3 separate regions of the Homo sapiens genome follow, and all the other regions are linked to region 2. Evidence: promoter capture Hi-C in 16 types of primary human blood cells and fetal thymus (Javierre and others, 2016). All regions are on one chromosome and are shown on one strand. The core of a region is centred on a gene start or on the middle of the fragment in contact, and the rest is flanking DNA. Distances in the headings are between cores, read along the strand shown.

Region 1 (3,142 bases), core at 291-2,790, 240 kb before region 2:
GTTCATGGAGCCTCAGAATACTGAGTCCCGCCCCATGAGTTTCTTATTCAGCAGGTCTGAGGCAAGGTCTCTTTTTTTTTTTGAGACGGAGTCTCGCTCTGTTGCCCAGGCTGGAATGCAATGGCGCCATCTCGGCTCACTGCAACCTCTGCCTCCTGGGTTAAAGTGATTCTCCTGACTCAGCCTCCTGAGTAGCTGGAGTTACAGGCGCCTGCAACCATGCCCGCTAATTTATTTTATTTTTTTAGTAGAGACGGGGTTTCACTGTGTTAGCCAGGATGATCTCAATCTCCTGACCTTGCGATCCGCCCGCCTTGGACTCTCGAAGTGTTGGGATTACAGGCGTGAGCCACTGCACCTGGCCTTTTTTTTTGCAGAGTCTCACTATGTAGCCCAGGCTGGAGTGCAGTGGTGTGATCTCACTGCATCCTCTGCCTCCTGGGTTCAAGCGATTCTCCTGCCTCAGCCTCTTCAGTAGCTTGGATTACAGGCACCCGCCACCAAGCCCGGCTAATTTTTTTATATTTTTAGCAGAGATGGGGTTTCACCATGCTGGCCAGACTGGTCTTGAACTCCTAACTTCAAGTGATCCACCGCACCCAGCGTGAGGCATGGTCTTGAATATGCATGTCTCACATTTCCAGGTGATACTGCTGCTGCTGGTCTGAGGACTACAGTTGGACCCACTGATGTAGAGGGTGGGAGGGAGAGTGTGGGCAGCAAGACCTTTCAGGAAGCTGTGGAAATAGATGGGGGAGACAGAGTCAGGGCTGATCACATTTTAGATCTGGGTGCTGCGAACTTTTCAGTGCCTTAATGGTGAGATTGCAGGCATGGTGATAAGAGACTGTATCTTGGAGGGAAATCCACTGGGCAATCATGTGCCCCCAGCATTGGCCAGGACAGCCCCCAACACCCAGCCTGCGGGGACCAGATCCACAGTTGGTAATGAGCTTCAGAAAGCACGACAAAGACAAGATGCCCAGAGCTGCAGTTTAATGTTTAATGCCCAATTATCTCAATACAAGGAGGCTTACATGGTGCTCATAAAGACACGACCAGGCGAAACCAGGCCGGCAGGAAATGACCCGCATGAGTCCCAGCACGGGGACCATGTTCTCTCGGTTCCAGCTCACCCTCGAAAAGTGCCACAGGCAAGGTTCTTCAGCTCACCCAGGAGCCAGCAGGCTGGCCAGGCGTGTGGCCACCATGGTCACTGAGGATCCTCGTGGGAGAATAGGGTTCTGGGACCTCAGGATACAATCACAAGAACCAGAAAGCTGCTTCCAAACAACCCCAGAAGGTTTTCACTTCACATGCGCTAAGCCACACAACACCTGGATGCTGGGGCACCCAAACCCTTTCCCTAAAACTCTGAACACTGCAGAATGGAGGTTGAGAACACTTGGGGAGGGAGAACAAAGTCAGAACCATCCTAAAGCCAGTTTTTCAAGCTTGACCACCTCCCTCTTCCTCCCTGAAGGCACACCAGCCGATCCCATTACTGTGGAAAAGGGACACCCTCTGGTCTATTCTAACACCTTTAATGGGAAAGGAGTTAGGAGCATGTCCCTGGCTTCAAGAAATCTCTGAATCTCCAACTCTACTGGATGATTTCCTGGAGCCCCAAGCTTTAGAAGTCCCTGGGGACACGAGTGATTTTTTTAGGGGGGCTGCTGGTGGGGCTGGGAAGTTTCCTGGCAGAAATTATTTACCTCAGAAAGACACTGGCTTTTCTCTTACCCTCGTTTTAAAGTCTACCTGGTCCCTAAAGAAAATACCACTCAGGCTGGGCCTGGTGGCTCGTGCCTGTCATCTCAACACTTTGGGAGGCCGAGGTGGTGGATCACTTGAGGTCAGGAGTTCAAGACCAGCCTGACTAACATGGCAAAACCCCGTCTCGACCAAAAATACAAAATTAGCCGGGCGTGGTGGTGCATGTCTATAGTCCCAGCTACTCTGGAGGCTGAGGCAGAAGAATCGCTTGAACCTGGGAGGCAGAGGTTGCAGTGAGCCGAGATCAGGCCACTGCACTCCAGCCTGGGCAACAGAGCGAGACTCCATCTCAAAAAAAAAAAAAAAGAAGAAAAAAAGAAAAGAAAATACCACTCAAAATGTGTCCTGAAGCACTCTGTGGAAGTCGGGAGGCTTCAAGTGTCACTGGCAAGACGGGGGCATGAGCTTGTGTCCTGCACTGAATCTGAGGCTTAGCCTGGGAGGTCTAGCCCCTTGGCCAGGCAAGGTGTGAAAGGGACAGTAGAGGGGGACAGAGGCAGCTGCTGAGCACACGGGGCACAAGCCTGAAGGCAGCTCCCCTGACCAGCCATATGGAGAGGCCTCTAGGGCATGAGCTTACATTCCAGACTTCAGTATTAAACTCATTCCCAATGGGTCCTGCAGGCCCCTTCTTCCTTTTCTCTGATGTAATTCTTGGGGAAAGCTCCAGAGCCCAAGGAATGGGAGTCAAACACCTCTGACTTCAGAGATGGCACATGGCTAAATGGCAGCCCAGTGGAGACCTCAGAGCAGCCCACTCACCACAAACGAGATCCTACACAGGGTCCCTGAGCATGCTGGACTTTAAGACGGGCGTCTGATAAGACCCTTGTGAGTATTTGGGTAGGAGACCAAAAGCATTTCTGCAAAGGGTACACAATTAGCCCTGCTTATAGAGTGGGGGCAGCTGTGACCCGCTGACCACTCCTGGGAGGGGGCTAACTTGGGGGCCCAGGAATTTGAGCAAATGATGAGGCACAATTGTCCCCAGCTGGGCATTAGATCACATTGGGCCCCACCCTGAAATAATCCCTCGTCTCAAACTTCAGACATCAGTCAGTCAGCTCAGGAGCCATCCAACAAAACCAACTTCATATTTTAAACCAGCTTAATGCTACAAACTTTTCTAAAAAGTGCTGTCCAGCTGAGCCTCTGAGAAAACCTAGCTCCCTGAGGGGTGGATGGCAGGCCTCTCAGACCAACCCCTGAGCCTCTCTCCAGAAGTCATAGCCTTGGTTCAGCCCAGAGCACCCACATCCCAGGGTGGGTGGGGGAGAAGAGCAGCTGAGCTGAAGGGACAATGTGGGATGATCAAGCCTCTGGGGGAACAGGCTGAAGCCAAAAGACCCCCTCAGGACCCCAGGCC
Region 2 (3,053 bases), core at 191-2,690:
TCATTAGTCTTGTATGGACTTTATATCCAATGCTGATTATAAGGTCTAGATGATGCTAGGTGGCAGAGATTCAAAGTTGGACAGGTCGGTTACTGTACTTGATAAATAAACAGCCCAGTGGCAAGACAGATAAATAAACTGACCATTTACACCCTGAAAAGGTGGTCAGTTGCTTAGGGAACTGGGGGAGGGGCGCCAAATGGAGGAGTAGGGACATGGTAGAGAGGGCTTTTCAGCATAGTGAGTGAATGAATGCTCATTTGAAGAAACAACTTGTGTTTAAGATGTTTTTCTTTCTTCCAGAGCTAGAATCTGGAAGAATCTCTGGGCTTTCCTGCTTTGAGGGAGAGATCAGGCTAGGTGCATTGCCAATTTGCTGCTGAAGATCTGATTAGGTTCTGCTTTGATGTGATCAAATGAGATGTAATCAGTGCTGGTACTTTAAGTGAGTTTGCAACTATTTAGTTGCTCTTTTTAGTAGTAGTATTAGTAATGGTAAAACTTAGTGCTTTTAGGATGAGAGTAGACGGCCTGAAGAATAATATCTTGGGCTCTTCTAATCAAGCCATACGGCTCATTGGCAAGTCATCAGAGGAAACATCTATCTATCTATACATTCATGCAATAAGTATTTATTTAGTGCCTATGTGCCAGACACTGTTTGTGGGGAAAACAAGACACATGGGCTATTATTGCCTCATGGAAGGAACTAAGCTGTTTGGATTTTGAAAAATCCCTTTCTCTGGGCCTCAATTCCTCGACCTGTTCAGAAATGTGCGCTCACAATGGTCCTAGACATCTTAGATTCAGGTTCCATTTTCAGTTCTTTCCTGTCCTGCGGCCATCTGCAAGTTAATTTGGTCTCCCTGAACCTCAGTTTCCTCATCTGTAAAATGAAGATCATACAACTCGTTTCATCAGGTTGTACTGAGGCTGGAAAAGATAGTCTAACTACTGACGCATCGTGTGCTCAGCCTAGGGTGGCTGCTACCGCGGGTGCCTGCGGACTCCTAGGACGGGCACCAGCCCGGGACCCCTGACAAGGTGTTGATTAGGGTGTGGCTAAGCCCCAGGCGGGAGAAAGCGTTGGCATTTATAAGGCCAGGGTCTGGCGCGGTGGCCTCATTCCGTCTTGAAGTAGACCCTGGAGAGGTCTTCCAGGCTTGGGCTCAGCACGCGAGCACAGGGAGCGGGGGTGCCGGCGGCGGAGGCGCGTACGGCCCGAGCAGCCCCCAGCCCCCAGCGCGCACACTTGGGCCAGGGGCGCGAGGAGTGCGCGGCCGCCGGGTGGGCGCTGGGGAGCGGGCCCTGGGGGCGGAGCCTGCAGCCCACCGCCCCCCACACACCCCAGCCGAGGCCCGGAAGGGGCCAGGCGCGCTTCCGTCTCCGCCGGGGATGCACGGAGGGCGGAGCTGCGGCCCGAGGACGCGACGCGAGCCCAGTTCCGGCGAGGAGGCCGCGCCAGTGACAGCGATGGCGGCGGAGTCGGCGCTCCAAGTTGTGGAGAAGCTGCAGGCGCGCCTGGCCGCGAACCCGGACCCTAAGAAGGTAAGCGAGGGGGCGGCGCGTAGCGGGATGGGCGTTGGGTCGGTGAGGGCCCCGTAACGGTCGCGGCCCGAGCGTGGCGGGGTTCGGGGGCTGGGACCCTGAGCCAGGCCCCGCGGGGCTGGGGTCGTGAAGTTCGCGGCCATTGACCGCTGCCCGCGCGTTGGGACCCCGTGCGTCGGGCGTCGGGACGCGGGGCCCCGGCCGCTCCCCCTCCCTCACGGGCCCGGGATGGGGGCGCGCCCGGTGCGGACACCGCGTGCCTAGCGCTTCCTCCCAGAGGCGCTCCGTGGCGTCCCGAGCCAGCTGTTTCCTGCGGGAGAGCGTGCCCGGGGCGGGAGGGCGCTGGCCGCCGCCTCGTTGGCCTCCCGGTGCCTGCGCTGGTGCCCGGCTCCCCGCGGAGCGGCGCGGACTCCCCAGCGGGTGCGTGTTCGCTGGGAGGAGAAGACGGGCGCCCGAACGCTGCGGAGCCTGGACTCGCGGTCTGGTCCGCGCCTCTCGGAGACGCGGTTACTACTCTCCGGCTGGATATCAGAGCGTGGACCTTTCGCTTTCTCAGTGAATCCCTTTCAAAACAGAATAAAGCCTCGCGTCACCTAAGCATACTCCTGAAAACTTAGGTTGGAATTGAAAAAGAGGCGGGGGCCCGGGGTTGGAAGTCGCAGCTAGGTTTCCTTTTGGCCATTAATAGGAAGGTAAGAGCTACCGTTTCTCGTTGTTCGAGTGATGGACAACCATTTTTAATTGTAGTTAACTAGTTTTTGTTGTTTATTGTACAAACTGAATATTAAGTTAAACGCGTTCTTGTACCTTTTCATCTTTCTGTCACTCACTTCTCTGGTCTCCAGGAGACAGTCTGGTGGTTGTCAGGATTTTTTTTTTTCTTTTTTTTTTTTGAGGCGAGTCTTGCTCTGGTCGCCCAGGCTGGAGTACAGTGGCGCGATCTCGGCTCACTGCAACCTCCGTCTCCCGGGTTCAGGCAATTGTCTGCCTCAGCCTCCCGAGTAGCTGGTATTGTAGGCGCCCGCCACCACGCCTGGCTAATTTTTGTATTTTTAGTAGAGACAGGGTTTCACCATCTTGGCCAGGCTGGTCTTGAACTCAGTTGTCAGGATTTTTTAAGTGGAAGTACAACGATGAAAAAGCACTTATGTGTTTGGCATTCTCCGTCATCATTCTGGCCGGGGCGGGCAGTTCTAGGAGTTGGAACTCAGTCCTGGTGGAAAAGGAAGTCGTGGAGGGAGGGCTAGGGCCGTGGGGGAACTGCTCTGCTGAGCCTCTTCCTCACCTGCTGCTTCCTAGGACTAACCTGAAAGGCTAAGGTACCAGGCTGAAAGTCAGTGCTCAGAAAACCAATCGTCATTCTTTGGGGTTTTTTTTCTTGAAGAGCCACTTTCTCTTTACCTTGTTCTAGCCTGTTGGAGGTAGGGTTTCTGCAATTCCAAAGGCCGTACACAGCCTCTCACCATCAGACCACTTTTTAAGGCTCTTCGTTCATACCTAGCTCG
Region 3 (3,207 bases), core at 553-3,052, 160 kb after region 2:
ATAACAGCCCTTTCCCAAAGTACACCTCCTTCTTGGCTGGGGACTAGATTGCCTTTGTAGGACTAATATTAGGCACAAGATTAGAAATTATGGTTTAGGGTCTGGTGTGGTAGTTCACGCCTGTAATCCCAGCACTTTGGGAGGCTGAGGCGGGTGGATCACTTGCGGTCAGGAGGTAAGACCAGCCTGGCCAACATGCTGAAACTCCGCCTCCACTAAAAATACAAAAGTTAGCCAGGTGTGGTGGTGCATGCTGTAATACCAGCTACTCGAGAGGGGGAGGCAGAAGAATCACTTGAACCTGGAAGGTGGAGGGTGCAGTGAGCTGAGATTGCGTCACTGCACTCCAGCCTGGGCGACAGAGGGGTCTCTGTCAGAAAGAAAGAAAGAAAAGAAAAAAAAGAAAGAAAAGAAAGAAAGAGGGAAGGAAGGAAAGAGAGAGAGAGAAAGAAAGAAAGAGAAAGAAAGAAAGAGAAAGAAAGAAAGAGAAAGAAAGAGAAAGAAAGGAAAGAGAAAGAAAGGAAAGAAAGAAAGAAAGGAAAGAAAGAAAGAAAAGAAAGAAAGAAAGGAAGGAAGGTTTAGGAGTCATGCAGCTGGAGGCTACAAGATTCTGACCCTCCCTAAACTGCTCCTGCGATCAGTGCTTGAGATACTTTGCAGACCCTGCACTTGATGGATCAGCTGGCACCACCCAAATCCATAAACTGGCTCATGTGATCTTGTGGCCCCCACCCAGGAACTGACTCAGCGCAAGAGGACAGCTTCGACCCCCTGTGATTTCATCCCTGGCCAATCAGCACTCCTGGCTCACTGGCTCCCCGCAACCAAACAAACTGTCCTTAAAAACTCTGATCCTTGAATGCTGGTGGAGACTGATTTGAGTAATAATAAAATTCCGGTCTCCCGCACAGCCAGCTCTGCATAAATTACTCTTTCTCTATTGCAATTCTCCTGTCTTGATGAATCGGCTCTGTCTAGGCGGCAGGCAAGGTGAACCCCTAGAGGCTTATAGACGGAGGGGCATGGGGTCTCTCTTATACTTCTGGGCAACCATCTCTTCCCTGATCTCTTTTTTTTTTTTTTTTTTTTTGAGACAGTTTCACTCTTGTTGCCCAGGCTAGGGTGCAATGGTGCAATCTCGGCTCACTGAAACCTCCGCCTCCCAGGTTCAAGCAATTCTCTTGCCTCAGCCTCCCAAGTAGCTGGGATTACAGGCATGTGCCACCACGCCTGGCCAAGTTTGTATTTTTAGTAGAAATGGGGTTTCTCCATGTTGATCAGGCTGGTCTTGAACTCCCAACCTCAGGTGAACCGCCCGCCTTGGCCTCCCAAAGTGCTGAGATTACAGGCATGTGCCACCGTGCCTGGCCTCCCTAATCTCATTTTTATCCTTCCCACCTTGGACCATTTTACCGAGCCACGTTTCCAGCTACCAACCAAATTGTCCTTAAAATCTCTGATCCTCGAATGCTGGGGGAGACTGATTTGAGTAATAGGACACTAGAATGGTCGCTCCAAGGGAGTTAAGGCTTATTATTTGTTTTGTTCACTCCCGTATCTTAAGTGCACCTGCCTCACCCATGGTCACTGCTCAGTAACTCTTTCTTTTTTTAATTGTAGGCAACCTTTATTACAGAAGTCCCTTATTTTAAGTGACTTTTTGCCGATTTTAGATTTGAAGGGAAGGTCTACAGTTAAGCTTGGAACCACTTAGTATCCAAGAGGGTGGCAGGAACATGCAACCCCTCAAAGCAGGTGGCATGGGTGCCATTGGGAGGGGATCTGGGGCCTGTCTTGTGCCCTAAATCTTCCTCCACCTGAGACGTGCACCCCAGTGTACCAGAGATGCCTAAGACTCCAATCCCCCAGCTCTGGCTGTGTGGAAAAGGTGCCTACTTCACAGAATCAAGCTTCAGTTGACTACATGCCAAAGAGAGACAAGGTTAAGTGTGGCCTTTCATGGTGTCAAGAAGCAGTTAGTGTCCTGATTTCCCCTCCATCCACTCGCCGACCTGCTGCAGCCTCCCCGGGCACCTCAGGCATAGAAGATGAGCTCAGGGATCTGCCCACCCTGGACCCCAGTCCCGTTGGTGCTGTCCGAGGAGCACTGGAACTGGAAGGCCACCTTTCTGCACTGCACTTGCGTCATCCCCTCCTGCCCAAAGTAGCTGAGGTTGCTGCCGTCCAGAACAGCACTGGCCATGTAGAAGGTGTCTTGTTCAACCTGGACCGGGTGTTCAAACCAGACCGGGAAGGTGTTACTGGATCTGTCCGACATGAATTTGGTCAGATTCTGAGCCAGAACTACCCCAAGCCTCTTGAGCTCAATCTTCACGCTGTACTCAGCCTTCCCAGAGCTGGACCCACACAGGCCTAGCCCCGCAATAAATACCCTTCTGTCCACTGCAAACTGGATGCTGTCGCAGCGCCCGCAGTACTGGCATTGGTTGCTGCGGTAGGCAGAAGACTGGAATAGGTGGCACCTCTGCGGGGTGAGGCCCTTCCTCTTGATCAGGGGGAAGTCCAGGCGGGGCTTGTTGGTGGCCGTGTACCACAGGAAGATGGTGTGGGTCTCCTCCAGAGTCAGGATGTCTGGATGTCTGACTGGGCAGCGCCGTTGGCAAACTCCTCTAGGGTCATGGTTGGAATTCGGATCAGATAGAGGGCTCGCCCCAAAACATGCCTCTTGTTTCGTGGGGTGACTGGCAGCCCCTGCCTCTTGCACTCTGCCTTGGCCCAGTTCAGGACGGCCTTGAAGACCACCGCCTCCTGGTGTTGAGGGCCTCCCGAGTGACAATGATCTCCAACGTCTGCCGGTCCATCTCACAGAAGCCTTGGGACCGCAGGGCCATCTCGGCCTGTGCGTCGATGACCTCCCAGCAGCGCTGGGTCAGGTCGGGCTCCTCAAACAGCCGGCTCTGGGACAGCAGGACGCAGGCGTTCTTGGCTTTCAGACTTGTCCCCAGAAAGTTGACGCAGGCTTTTGCCAATGCTGGGACGATGTACTTCTTAGCAGCCTACAGAGTGGCCAGCACCGTATCCGCTTCCAGATCGATCTCATCACTGTACACGTACTTTAATAGGATCAGAAAGGCTGCGGGCTCCACGTCTGGAATGTGAATTTCAGATTTGACTTCCGCCAGGTCCCAGTAGAACATGGCATAGAAGACGGAGCTGCAGACAGCCAGGACGTACTTGTGGGCGGGC

What was found. The method cuts DNA at HindIII sites, captures the fragments that hold promoters and counts their contacts. A CHiCAGO score of 5 or more calls a contact.
Region 1: a contact is called between a fragment that was not itself captured here and the fragment with the promoter of ELOA in region 2, in 1 of 17 cell types (naive B cells). The highest score is 6.9, in naive B cells.
Region 3: a fragment that was not itself captured here is called in contact with the fragment with the promoter of ELOA in region 2 in 1 of 17 cell types (total CD8 T cells); the score reaches 5.1 in total CD8 T cells.

The regions. Positions count from the first base shown.
Region 1 is chr1:23,505,449-23,508,590 of GRCh38, forward strand. It overlaps E2F2 (E2F transcription factor 2), which reads right to left. Exons shown (of 7, transcript NM_004091.4): 7 at 990-3,142. Among named protein-coding and RNA genes, the nearest start is that of ASAP3, 23 kb to the left of the region's middle. The HindIII fragment of the contact is 177 bases long and covers 1,453-1,629 here.
Region 2 is chr1:23,742,031-23,745,083 of GRCh38, forward strand. ELOA (elongin A) reads left to right here and starts at 1,441. Exons shown (of 11, transcript NM_003198.3): 1 at 1,441-1,548. The coding sequence starts at 1,474. RefSeq lists silencers at 1,243-1,472, 1,623-2,102. The HindIII fragment of the contact is 10,892 bases long and covers 1-3,053 here.
Region 3 is chr1:23,899,436-23,902,642 of GRCh38, forward strand. All of the region lies in intron 1 of CNR2 (cannabinoid receptor 2), which reads right to left. It also overlaps the pseudogene BTBD6P1. Among named protein-coding and RNA genes, the nearest start is that of CNR2, 12 kb to the right of the region's middle. The HindIII fragment of the contact is 211 bases long and covers 1,698-1,908 here.